2 separate regions of the Homo sapiens genome follow, and region 1 is linked to region 2. Evidence: promoter capture Hi-C in human tissues and cell types (Jung and others, 2019). All regions are on one chromosome and are shown on one strand. The core of a region is centred on a gene start or on the middle of the fragment in contact, and the rest is flanking DNA. Distances in the headings are between cores, read along the strand shown.

Region 1 (6,485 bases), core at 3,028-5,527, 80 kb before region 2:
TTTACCCTGAAACGTTTTCCTTTAGCATTTTTAATAATGCAGGTCTGCTGGCAATGAATTATCTTAGTTTTTATTTATCTAAAAACATCATTTTGGCCAGATGAGGTGGTGGCTCACACTTGTAATCCCAGCACTTTTGGAGGTTGAGGCAGGCAGGGTTGAGCCCAGGAGTTTGAGACCAGCGAGAGCAACATGGCAAGACCTCATCTTAACCAAAAAAAATGTTTTTAAATAGACAGGCATAGTGGTGTACACTTGTAGTCCCAGCTACTCAGGAGGCTAAGGCAGGAGGATCCCTTGAACCCAGGAGTTTGAGGCTGCAGTGAGCTATGATCACACTATTGCCCTCCAGCCTGGCTGGCCAATGAATACCCGGTCTCGATTTTTTCAAAATTGACAAGCATTATTAAGGCTTAATGTGTACTTTTAATTGTTTGGGTTTCCATAGGACTTTCAGGCATCTTACTTTTCAGCCAAGGAACGTGAAGACTTGGCAAGAAGACCCACTCCCCCCGCATTGGGTCTATGGAGTCTGCTTAATCTGTGATACCACCTGGAAAAGTTGCTTACCAGCCAGATGCTGCCACACATGCCCCATGATGAGATAAACAAGGCAAAACACAGAGAGGCTGAAAAAGCTTCCTCTCACCATCAGTGATGCCAGGAAAAGACAGCATTTCCTGAGCCCCATGTTGCTCAGGTCACCAAAGCTGGGCATGTCTGGGGCAGGTGATATGGCAGCTGCTTCTAGCTTTCCCTAGGAAGGATTCATGCAGATCTGTAGACCCAGGACTAAATAAGGCATGTGAAGCACTTGCCTCAAGTGCAAAATTTAAGCGGGTGCCCAAAAACCCAATCAAGATAATATCTTAATACCATGTGAAAAACAAAGTTAATGCAAAAAAATCTATGATGAACAAAATATCAAACTTTTAAATAAGACAGACTTTGCATTCGCATGACTCACATCACTTACCACCCCCCTAATCTCAGCCCTGTTGGATCCTGCCTTTACTGAAAATGTTGATGTTTTGCTCATCATGGATTTTTCTGCATTAATTTTGATTTTTAAAAATATTGCATAAAAATGGCACTTATCTTGATTAATAGTGGGGTTTGGGGCACACTTAATTTTGCAGTTGCCTCACCCCAGTCCCATTCCGGAAGATCATTATGGACCTCTTCACAATCTTCCTTGCTACACCCCCATCCCCACCAGAAGAAATCCCCCCAGCCTACTTTGATGATAGCAAGGCATTTTTTTCATACATAAAAATAAAACATTGACTGGTGACACTAATGACAGCCAAGTGAGGGGTTTGGGTAAGTTCTTGGCATAGTTCACTTAGCAGTTTTATAAATAGGAGTTCTAACAGACTTCTGGATCCCAGAGTAAAAAAATTCACCAATTAAAATGATCCTAAATTTCCTCATTTCGACATAAGACACCAAGAACAAGATTAAGAAATACAAGAAATCTGAGTATTTTTAATGTCTGTTATAATGCACATTAATGTATTTGTTTTGAATTTGGGGCTGCAAGTGGATAGAATAATGAAATCTCGGATCTTATATTTTGTGGCAGAAGATGGCCAGCATGGTGCCATTCGTAAGATATTTCACACCTTTTCTTCAATCCTATTGTGTGTCTGCAGAGGCAACATGGAACAGTACTGGGGATCCCAGTTATGTGTATTACCCATATCAACCTGAACAAGTTACTAATTATCCATTCGGTCTCACTTTCCTCATGTGCAAAATGGGACGACAATTTACCTTAAATAAAGGTTAAAAAACATTTTATAGGCCAGGCATGGGGGTTCACTCCTGGAATCTCATTACTTTGGGAGCCTGAGGCAGTAGGATTGCTTGAGGCCAGGAGCTCAATAACAGCCTGGGCAACATAGCGAAACCTTGTCTCTACAAAAAATACAAAAATTAGCTGGGCATGATGACATACACTTGTAGTCCCAGCTACTCGGGAGGCTGAGGCAGGTGGATCACCTGAGCCCAGGAGTTAGGGGCTGCAGTGAGCTGATTATCCCTTTGCACTCCAGCATGGGTGACAGAGCAAGACCCTGTGTCTAAAACGAAAACAAAACAAAAAACAAGTCTTCATGTCTCTCTCCTTTATTTATGCTAAATAATTACAGGCTATCTCGATTATCCTTGGTCTCTAAAATTATAAAAGTTAATTCTGAACAATAAAAAATTATTATTATTATCTTTTAGACATATGAGCTCATTCTCTCTCTCAGGCTGGAGTACAGTGGCTCAGTCACAGCTCAGCTCACTGCAGCCTTGACCTCCCAGGCTCAAGCAATACTCCCACCTCAGCCTCTTGAGTAGCTGGAACCACAGGCACGCATCACCACACCTGGCTAATTTTTGTACTTTTTTTTTTTTTGAGATGGAGTCTTGCTCTGTTGCCCAGGCTGGAGTACAGTGGTGCTATCTCGGCTCTCTGCAACCTCTGCTTGAGGTTCAAGCTTGTACCCAGGTTCAAGCGATTCTCCTGCCTCAGCCTCCTGAGTAGCTAGCTGGGACTATAGGCACACACTACCACGCCTGGCTAATTTTTATATTTTTAGTAGAGAGGGAGGTTTCACCATGTTGGCCAGGCCAGTCTTAAACTCCTGACCTCAGGTGATCCACCCACCTCAGCCTCCCAAAGTGCTGGGATTACAGGTGTGAGCCACCACACCCGGCCAATTTTTGTATTTTTTGTGAAGACGGGGTTTCACCATGTTGCCCAGCCTGGTCTTGAACTCTTGAGCTCAAGTGATCCGCCTGTCTCATCCTCCCAAAGTCCTGGGATTACAGGTGTGAGCCACTGCACCCAGCTAAAGAATTATTTCTAAAGAACATTTTGAATGAGGAGACAGGAATAAGTAGGATCAGATTTTATTTTGAAAGTAATAATTACAAAACTTTTTGGAACCCCACATATTGGTATGTATAAATGAAATGGAACCATTTTTTATCTGTAATTCCAGGGAGTTCACAACAAATGCCCTGGGCTAAAACATCAGCAATCTGAGTTGATTTTTTAAAATCTGGTCTTAACACCTGGGCTACAGCTTCAGTGGGTCAAGGCTGCTCTTGACAATGGCTGTCATTCTCAGACGAGAGAAGCATCATATTCTCACCAGGACTTAATTAGGAATCTGGATTCTATTAATACTATTAATTTCTTCCCCAAAGGCAAGAAAATCTTGGGATTACAATTCATGATTCTCATTGTACAGTGTCTAGTAGGTTAGAATTATTCTTTCATTATTTTGCTCCTCCCTGTCTTTGTCTTTTCTTTTTTTCTTTTTTTTTTTTTTTTTTTTTTGAGACAGGGTCTTGCTCTGTCACCCAGGCTAGAGTGCAGTGGCACAATTTTGGCTCATTGCAACCTCTGCCTCCTAGGTTCAAGCGATTCTTCTGCCTCAGCCTCCCAAGTAGCTGGGATTACAGGTACCCACCACCATGCCTGGCTAATTTTTGTATTTTTAGTAGAGAAGGGTTTTACCATCTTGGCCAGGCTGGTCTCGAACTCCTGACCTTGTGATCCACCCGTGTCGGCCTCCCAAAATGCTTAGATTACAGGCATAAGCCACTGTGCCTGGCCGCCTTTTTTTTTTTTTTTGCCCACCCCCAGTTGGGAGTCTTGCTCTGTTACCCGGGCTGGAGTGCAGTGGCGTGATCACAGCTCCCTGTAGCCTCAACTCCTGGGCTCAAGCGATCCTTCTGTCTCAGCTTCCCGAGTAGCTAGGACTACAGGCACATGCCAATCACCACATCTGGCTACTTTTTGTATTTTTTGTAGAGATGGGATCTCACTGTGTTGCTCAGACTGGTCTCCTGGACTCAAGCAATCCACCTGCCTCAGTCTCTCAAAGTACTGAGATTACAGGCATGAGTCAATGCGCCTGGCCCCACATTTCCTTTATTCATTCATCAGTTGATGGACATTTGGGTTGTTTTCATTTTTTGGCTATTATGAATAATGTTGCTATGAACATTCGGGTACAAGTTTTGGTGTGGACTTTTCTTTTTTTTTTTTGGAGACGGAGTCTCGCTCTATCACCCAGGCAGAAGGGCAGTGGCGCGATCTTGGTTCAATGCAACCTCTGCCTCCCGGGTTCAAGCGATTCTCCTGCCTCAGCCTCCTGAGTAGCTGGGATTACAGGTGTGCACCACCATGCCCAGCTAATTTTTGTATTTTAGTAGAGATGGGGTTTCACCATGTTGGTCAGGCTGGTCTGGAACTCCTGACCTCAAGTGATCTGCCTGCCCTCGGCCTCCCAAAGTGCTGGGATTACAGGCTTGAGCCATCACATCTGGCTGACATGTTTTCATTTCTCTTTGGCATATGCCTAGGAGTTAAATTTCTGGGTCATGTGCCTCTTTATACTTTTCTTTTCTTTTCTTTTTTTTGAGGCAGAGTCTCGCTCTGTCGCCCATGCAGGAGTGCTGTGGCGCGATCTCGGCTCACTGCAAGCTCCGCCTCCCGGGTTCACGCCATTCTCCGGCCTCAGCCTCCTGAGTAGCTGGGACTACAGGCGCCCACCACCATGCCCGGCTAATTTTTTGTATTTTTAGTAGACAGGGGGTTTCACCGTGTTAGCCAGGATGACCTCGATCTCCTGACCTTGTTATTCGCCCGCCTCGGCCTCCCAAGTGCTGGGATTATACGCGTGAGCCACCGCGCCCAGCCCTATACTTTTCTTTTTTTTCTTTTTCTTTTTGAGACAGAATCTTGTCGCCCAGGCTGGAGTGCAGTGGTGTGATCTTGGCTCACTGCAACCTCCACCTCCAGGGTTCAAGTGATTCTCCTGTCTCAGCCTCCCGAGTAACTGAGATTACAGGCATGGACCACCACACCTGGCTAATTTTTGTATTTTTAATAGAGATGGGGTTTCACCATGTTGGCCAGGCTGGCCTCCAACTCCTGACCTCAAGCAATCTGCCTGCATCAGCCTCCCAAAGTGCTGGGATTATTGGCGTGAGTCACCGCGCCCGACCTCTCTTTATACTTTTCAAGAGAATCATATGAATTACCTACTGCTGTGTAGAAAATTGCCCCAAAACTTTATGGCTTAAGATAACAATAATAATAATAATAATATATAATAATAAGATAACAAGAGTTTCACTCCTGTTGCCCAGGCTGGAGTACAGTGGTGCGATCTCGGCTCACTGCAATCTCTGCCTTCCGAGTTCAAGCGATTCTCCTGCCTCAGCCTCCCGAGTAGCTGGGATTACAGGTGCCTGCCACCACGCCTGGCTAATTTTGTATTTTTTGTAGAGACAGGGTTTCTCCATGTTGGTCAGGCTGGTCTCAAACTCCCGACCTCAGGTGATCCACCTGCCTTGGCCTCCAAAGTGCTTGGATTACAGGCGTGAGCCACTGTGCCTGGCAGAAAACAATAATTATTATCACTCACAGTTTCTGAGGGTCAGGTGTTTGGAGCCCTCCAGGTTGCTCGTGAGGCTGCAGTCAGATGCTGGTCAGTGTGGCAAGGATCCGAAGGCTTGGCCTGGAGCTAGAGGATCCACACTGAAGGTGGTTCACTCACATAGCTGGCAAGTTGGTGCCAGCTATTGGCTGGGCGCCTCAGGTCCTGTCCACATGGACACCTGAGTATGCTCAAAGAACTTGGCTTCCTCCAAAACAAGCTAGACAAGAGATGAGTGTGGAAGCTGCATTATCTTTTATGACTAAGCATCGGATGTCACACCCAGTCACTGTCACCCTATTGTATTGTTCATGTATGCCAGCCCTGATTCATAGGAAAGGGACTACAGGAAGAGGTGGATACCAGGGGTGGTAGGATCAGCAGGGACCATCTTGGTGTCCCATCCAAGTACTAACGAGGCCCATCCTTGCTTAGCTTCCAAGAAAAGATGTGATCAGGATGGGCGTGATGGGTAGTGCCTGTAATCCCAGCACTTTGGGAGGCCGAGGCAGGCAGATCACAAGTTCAGGAGATCGAGACCTCCTGGCTAACAGGGTGAAACCCCATCTCTACTAAAAATACAAAAAATTAGCTGGGTGTGGTGGCGGGCACCTGTAGTCCAGCTACTCGGGAGGCTGAGGCAGGAGAATCGCTTGAAGCAGGGAGGCTGCAGTGAGTCGAGATTGTGCCACTGCACTCCTGGGTGACAGAGTGAGACTCCGTCTCAAAACAAAACAAACAAACAAAAAAAGATGAGATCAGATGCATTCAAGGTGCTATGGCCGTAGACCGGGATCATCCTGGAGGCTGGCTGATTTCAAACAGGTTGATTTCAAGGCTCTGTTCTCTTATTCCTGAGGAAATAATCCAGATGTATACACCCCAGGCTGGAGATCAAAAATTACATGTCTGCTGAGCACCTGTAATCCCAGCTCTTTGGGAGGTCGAGGCAGGAGGATCACTTGAGCCCAGGAGTTCAAGACCAGTCTGGGAAACATAGAGACTCCAACTCTTTTTTTTTTTAATAAAAATAAACAA
Region 2 (7,025 bases), core at 23-2,522:
CAGAGAAATAGAAGTGAACTTTCACAAGTCATTAATCTATTGCTCAAAATAAAATGATCACACACAAACCGAAAATCAAAGCTTCAAACATACACACACCGAAAATCAAAGCTTCAAACCAATCTTTAGCGGCTGCATATCACTAGTTGCCTGGGGTTGGGAGAGAATGACTGCAAAGGGAAAGGAAGCTTTTTAGAATGATGGAAATGGTTTATGTCTTAACATGGATGAATACATTTTTCAAAACTCATCAAAATGTACATTTTAGATAGGCACAATTTACGTATGTACATTACACCTCAATAAAGTTTTAAATATTTAGAAGTCTATCCTGTTTCCTTAAAAAAAAAATTAGTTGCACCATGGTCTCAAAAATAATTTTTAAAATGAGATGTAATGCAACAGACTTGAAGATTAAATAAAACAGTCTTGAATATTTAAGAAAAATGACAAAACATGAGTCAAAAACAAAAAAAAAGGGTTGATTTATGAGTTTCTGGCCTCAAGGTCAACTCAGATTAGGGGGAAAAAAAAACAGTGGAGGCATAATCAAGATGGGGAAGCGTGTGGAGAGAAATCTCAGCTTCTACTCTAGAAGACGAAAACCAAAACCGGTATTACTTCAGAAGGCACACTGGAAAAGCACAGATGTGGGTGCACTTCAGACCTAGGTTCAACGGATCTAAGCTGCTAACTCTATGGCCCTGAGAGTCCTCAACCTGTGAGCCTCAGTTTCCCTTTCTGTAAAATAAAGATAATGATGGCTTAGAGTTTAGCTGAGCACACAGCAAATGCTCGACACATAAGTAATACATGATATTACATAAGGCACCAGAACTCGGAGCTGACTGGAAATGCATGCAAACTAAAGCCCTCCCCCAATCCCACCCCAGTTTCCCTCTGAGGGTCGTGATCCCTTTCTTACGCCTTATCGCCCCCAGCCAAGCCTCCCTTCCTTCCCACATACACTCCACACAGCCTTTTCACCCCTCGCCCCAGCAGCTTCAGAGGCCTCCCACCTCCCAGGCCCCACCTCGTTGAGGAAGCGGGTGACATCGTAGACTCGCCCATGGATCACAAGCCACAGTTCCTTCAAGGAGTTGCGCTTTGCCACCTCCTCCAACCGGTAATAGGTGACTGAGGTCTCGACTTCCTGCCCTTTCCCATCGCTGCCGCTAGCTTCCGCAGTCGCCATTGAACCGGACATACTGCCTCTCCACCGCTAACTGAGATTCCGCGACTACTTTCCTTGAGAGCCCGCGCTCAGCCTTCCTCGGCTTCCGTAACCAGGGCCCATAAGGCCTTGAGACGGTTCCTAGCAACAGCCAATCACACTTCCGAATAGTTCCTGGTTCGTTTTCTTTTCACCAATGAAGGGAGTGGCTCAGTTCGAAATCCCGCCCACTCCTCGCCCGATCCTCCAGATGAAAGTCTGGTTCGAGGTCCAACTAACCAATTAGGGTCGTTCAGCCCCCTCCAACCTCGCCAATCAGATACCGCGATTTTTGGACTGGCGCCCAAAAGAGGCGTGCTGACAGGTGTCACTTCAGGAGAGGTACCACTTCTCTCAGCCTGTGGGCCTTTAGGGTCTCCAGTGTTCTGCTTCCCTTCCCATCGCTGTGGCTTTCTCCTGAGTCTCAGAAAGTTCCTATCCCCTACACTACCGGCGCAGCCTGTATCCCAACCCTGATTTTACATCTTTGCTGCCTCCAGGTCGTGATCTGGCCAATCCCGTCTCTCCTCAATTTCCCCATCAGTAAAATGGGCTTGATAAAGCACTCTCTTACAGAGGGGTTTGCCTTTTTTTTTTTTTTTTTTTTTTTTGAGACAAGTTCTCGCTCTGTCTCCTAGGCCAGAGTGCAGTGGCACGATCTCGGCTTACTGCAAACTCCGCCTCCCAGGTTCAAGCGATTCTCCTACCTCAGCCTCTCGACTAGCTGGAACTACAGGCATGCGCCACCACGCCCGGCTAATTTTTGTATTTTTAGTAGAGAGTAGGTTTCACCATGTTGGCCAGGCTGGTCTCGAACTCCTGACCTCAGGTGATCCGCCTGCGTAGGCCTCCCAAAGTGCTGGGATTACAGGCGTGAGCCACCGCGCCTGGCCCGGTTTGCCTATTTTAATGAGAGTGCCTGTAAAGCGCTTGGCGCATAGTAATCGCTAAACATGGCAGTCGATTAGAAAGGCAATTGCTGTCCCGGACAGCAATTGGGGGTAGAATGTGGAGTATCCTATGTTTCTACCATCATTCAGAATCCGATTTTCAAACGAATTCTGTGATGATCAGGATCAATCGGCACTATTTTAGTCTCTACGTGATCTAAAATAGAATTGAACTCAACTGCTCTCCGCTAGAGGTCCCAGCACTTTGGAATTCCAAGTTTGGTTAAGGTACAGTGTTGTGCGCCACTTTTTAACTGCCATTACAACTGACAGATTGCTCTTCCTATGATGTCGTCGTTTTCATCCTGTCACTCTCGCAGTCTACCATTCAGGGCTCTCCACAATCCATTCGCAACCTCTTTCACTAACGTATAATATTTTCCACCATTCCCTTTATAAGCCTGTTGCACCCGCCCCGACTCTGAAACCTGCTGGTTTAAAACCACATCCGTGGTCATCCCAGGTCCACCAAGTTAATTTTAGATCACTTAGAGACTAAAATAGTGCAGATTGATCCTGATCATCACAGAATTCATTTGAAAATCGGATTCTGAATGGTGGTAGAAACATGGGATACTCCACATTCTACCCTCAATTGCTGTCCCAAGGACTCCTCTTCCTTTCAATGCCTACCGGCTTTTCAAGTTCCTCTTCAGTTTCTTCTATTTTCAAACTTCTCCTACCGTTTTGAGCTCCAGTGCTTCCATCCCTTTGTAGTACCTAAGAAAGCATATTACTATTTTGGGAAGCCTGCTACGTCTGTAAATTTTAACTTTACGTATTTTACCTCCCTAGTTAGACTGACACTATGAGAGCAATCTCACAAGATTCTTAGGATCCTCCACAAACTCTAGATTCAAATATTTACATTTATTCCAGACATTTACTATTTACTGTTACAAGTCTTATGATAGGCATTGGGAGTAGAGAGATAACATAAGAAACAAAATCTCTGAAAGAAATAAAAACATTTACAGGCTGAATGTGGTGGCTCAAGCCCCGTAATTCCAGCACTTTGGGAGGCCGAGGTGGACAGATCACTTGAGCCCAGGAGTTCAAGACCAGGCTGGGCAACATAGTGAGGCTCTTGTCTCTTCAAAAAATACAAAAATTATCTACGCATGGTGGCACACAACTGTAATCCCAGATATTTGAGAGGCTGAGATCTGGGGATGGCTTGAGCCTGGGAAGTCGAGGCTGCAGTGATGTATGATCGCACCACTGTGCTCCAGCCTGGATGACAGAGCGAAACCCTGTTTCAAAAAAATAAAAATAAATAAATAAAAATAAAAAATAAAAAAATTACAAATTCTAGCACTTAAGTGATATATACCTGTAACATTATATTTGAAAATGTTTTTAGAATTTCAAATAAGTAAGTTACAAGAATAATACAATGAATGACCATATACTTTTAGCTTAGGTTTACCAACTGTTAATATTTTTCAATATTTGATTTTTTCCATATTATTTTGATCATTGTTGTTAATAATGCTGAACTATTTCAGATATCACCACCCTTTACAGCCAAATAATTCTACATGTATCTTCTAAAAATAAGAACATATTGTCACGTAACTGCAGTATGAATTTCAAATTCAGAGAATTTAACATTCACACAAAATTATTATCTAACATACTCTCCATATTATTTTCCATTATTGCATTCATGTCCTTTGTGAAATTTTAGTGTGCCTGTATGACCCAGGATCCAGTTCAGGATCATGTATTGCACTTAGCTAAGTCTCTTGAGTCCCCTTTAATCTAGAACATTTCCTTAACTTTGCTTTTGCTTTCATGACATTGACATTTTTAAATAGTATAGCCTCAAATTGAATTTTACACTGAAAAATTATTGTGACCTAAATGTTTTGGTTATAAATTTATATTTACAATTGATAGCACATGTTAGCCAGAAAGTCTGGCTTGGAATACCTGTCCCTGCCACTCACAAACTTGGTGACCTTGGGCAGGTTTCTTAGCCTCTTTTTTTCCATGTGGATACCCACTTGTTCCTGCACCATTTGATGAAAACACAATTCCCCCTTGAATTGTTTTCCTGTATCTGTCGAAAATTGATTGATCATATAAGTGTGGTTCTCCTTCTGAAATTTCTACTCTGTTCCGATGACTTATTTGTTTATCCTTGTGCCAATTCCACAGTCTTGATTATTGTAAGGCACTAAATCAGGTAATATAAGTCTTATAGCTTTGCTCTTAACTTTTGAAAATTATTTTTGCTATTCTAGATCCTTTGTATTTCCACATACATTTTTTTTTTTCACTCTCATCACCCAGACTGGATGGAGTGCAATGGCACAATCTCAGCTCACTGCAACCTACACCTCCCGGGTTCAGAGTAGCTGGGATTACAGGCCCCCACCACCACACTTGGCTAATTTTCATATTTTTAGTAGAGAGGGGGTTTCACCATGTTGGCCAGGCTGGTCTCAAACTCCGGACCTCAGGTGATCCGCCCACCTCGGCCTCCCAAAGTGCTGGGATTACAGGCATGAGCCACCATGCCCGGCCCCACACACAATTTAAAATCAGCTTGTTGACCAAGTGATCAAATTAAAACATCTCCATAATAAATCATGTTGACAGCATGTACCCCCGGTGTGATGTGATGAAAAGGGCATGTTGCCACTGTGGCATTCTTCCACAAAATCCATAACCATAGTCCAAGCATGGGAAAAACATCAGGTAAACCCAAACTGAGGGACATTCTACATAATGCCTGACCAGTACTCCTCAAAACTGACAAGCTCATAAAAAAAAAAAAAAAAAAAGGAAAGATTGAGAAATTGTCACAGACTCAAGTAAACTAAGGAGACATGACAATTAAACGCAGTATAGTATCCTGGACTGGATCCTAGAACAGAAAAAGGGCACTGGGGAAGAATTAGTGAAATCCAAATAAAACAGTAAGGTGCCAGTGTTGATTTCTTACTTTTGACAAACATATTATGGTAATGTAAAATGCTATCTTTATGGAAAATTGAGTGAGTATACAGAAACTCATTGTATTATTTTTGCAACTTTTCTGTAAATCTAAAATTATTACAAAAAAAGTTATTATTTTTTGCTGGGCACTGTGGCTCATTCCTGTAATCCCAGCACTTTGGAGGCTGAGGCACAAGGATTGCTTGAGCTCAGGAGTTCAAGACCAACCTCGACAACATAGCAAGACCTCATCTCTTTTTTTTTGAGACGAGTCTCACTCTGTCACCCAGGCTGGAGTGCAGTGGCATGATCTAGGCTCAGTACAACCTCCGCCTCCCGGGTTCAAGCAATTCTCCTGACTCAGCCTCCTGAGTAGCTGGGATTACAGGTGCCCACGACCATGCCCAGCTAATTTCTTTGTATTTTTAGTAGAGACAGGGTTTCACCATGTTGGCCAGGCTGGTCTTGGACTCCTGACCTCAGGAGATCCGCCTACCTCGGCCTTCCAAAATGCTGAGATTACAAGCGTGAGCCACTGTGCCTGGCCTGCAAGACCTCATCTCTTTAAAAAAATGTAAAAATTAGCTGGGCATGGTGGTGGGCACCTATAGTCTCAGCTGCCTGGGAGGCTGAGGCAGGAGGATTGCTTGAACCCAGGAGTTGGAGGCTACAGTGAGCTATGATTGTGCCACTGCACTGCAGCCCGGGTGGCAGAGTGAGACCCTGTTTCTAGAAGAAAAAAAAAAAAATCAGCTTCTTAATTTTACAAAAGTGCTTATAGATGAATTTACAGAAAAAAGACACCTTAAAAACCTTACATTTCATGAACCATTTACTTCAGTTTAATTTGTAGTTTTCAATGTAGACATCTTTAGCATCTTTTATTAAATTTATTTCTAAATGTTTCGTTTTTTAATGCCCCTATAAATGAAATTATTTCATTTTCCAATTGTTTGCTGCCAGTCTAGATAAATATAATTGATTTTGTACATTGACTTACTATCTTATACCTTGCCAAATTCACTTATAGTTCCTGTAATTATTTTATGGATTTCTTAGAATTATCTATGTAATAAATATGTCGTCTGCTAATAGAGACAGCTTTGCTTCCACCTTTCTTCCCAATCTGTATGCCTCTTTTTTCCTTGCCTTGTTGCACTGGCTAGGACTTTCAGTACAGTGTTGAATAGAAATGGTGAAGTTAGCATCCCTGTCTTGTTCCTAATCTTAGGAGGAAAGCATTCAGTCTTTCACAATTTAATATAATTTTTCAGTAGATGTCTTTTATCAGCTTGAGGATCTTGAGGATCTAGTTTCCTGAGTTTGTTTTATTTTTATTTTGTTTTTATTAAGAAAGGGTGTTGAATCCTGTTGAATATTTTTTCTTTTCTTTTCTTTTCTTTTTTTTTTTTTTTTTTTTTGGTTGTTGTTGTTGTTGTTGAGACAGGGTTTTGCTCTGTGGCCCAGGCTGAAGTGCAGTGGCACGATCACAGCTCACTGCAGTCTCAACCTCCCGGGCTTGCAAGCAATCCTTCCACCTCAACCTCCCAAGTAGCTGAGACCACAGGCTCCCACCATCACACCCGGCTAATTTTTGTATTTTTTGTAGAGACAGGGTTTTGCCGTGTCGCCCAGGCTGGTCTCAAACTCCTGAGCTCATGTGATACACCCACCTCAGCCTCCCAAAGTGCTAGGATTACAGGCATAAGCCACTGTGCCTGGCCTGTTGAATATGTTTTATACATCTATCAGAATGATCATATTATTTTCCTCCTTTATTCCGTTAATATGGTGAATTACACTGAATGGTTTTCAAAAACTTAACCATCTGGCCGGGCGTGGTGGCTCATACCTGTAATCCCAGCACTTTGGGAGGCCGAGGCGGGCAGATCATGAGGTCAGGAGATTGAGACCAT

Evidence for each region. Contacts are between HindIII fragments. The study calls those that stand out against the background at their distance.
Region 1: a contact is called between a fragment that was not itself captured here and the fragment with the promoter of CYB5B in region 2, in 2 of the 25 tissues and cell types used here (heart left ventricle and liver).

The regions. Positions count from the first base shown.
Region 1 is chr16:69,502,667-69,509,151 of GRCh38, reverse strand. No RefSeq gene overlaps it. Among named protein-coding and RNA genes, the nearest start is that of MIR1538, 60 kb to the left of the region's middle. The HindIII fragment of the contact is 5,426 bases long and covers 1,565-6,485 here.
Region 2 is chr16:69,418,866-69,425,890 of GRCh38, reverse strand. It overlaps CYB5B (cytochrome b5 type B), which reads right to left and starts at 1,272. Exons shown (of 5, transcript NM_030579.3): 1 at 1,034-1,272. The coding sequence starts at 1,207. RefSeq lists enhancers at 894-1,441, 1,442-1,989. The HindIII fragment of the contact is 13,364 bases long and covers 1-7,025 here.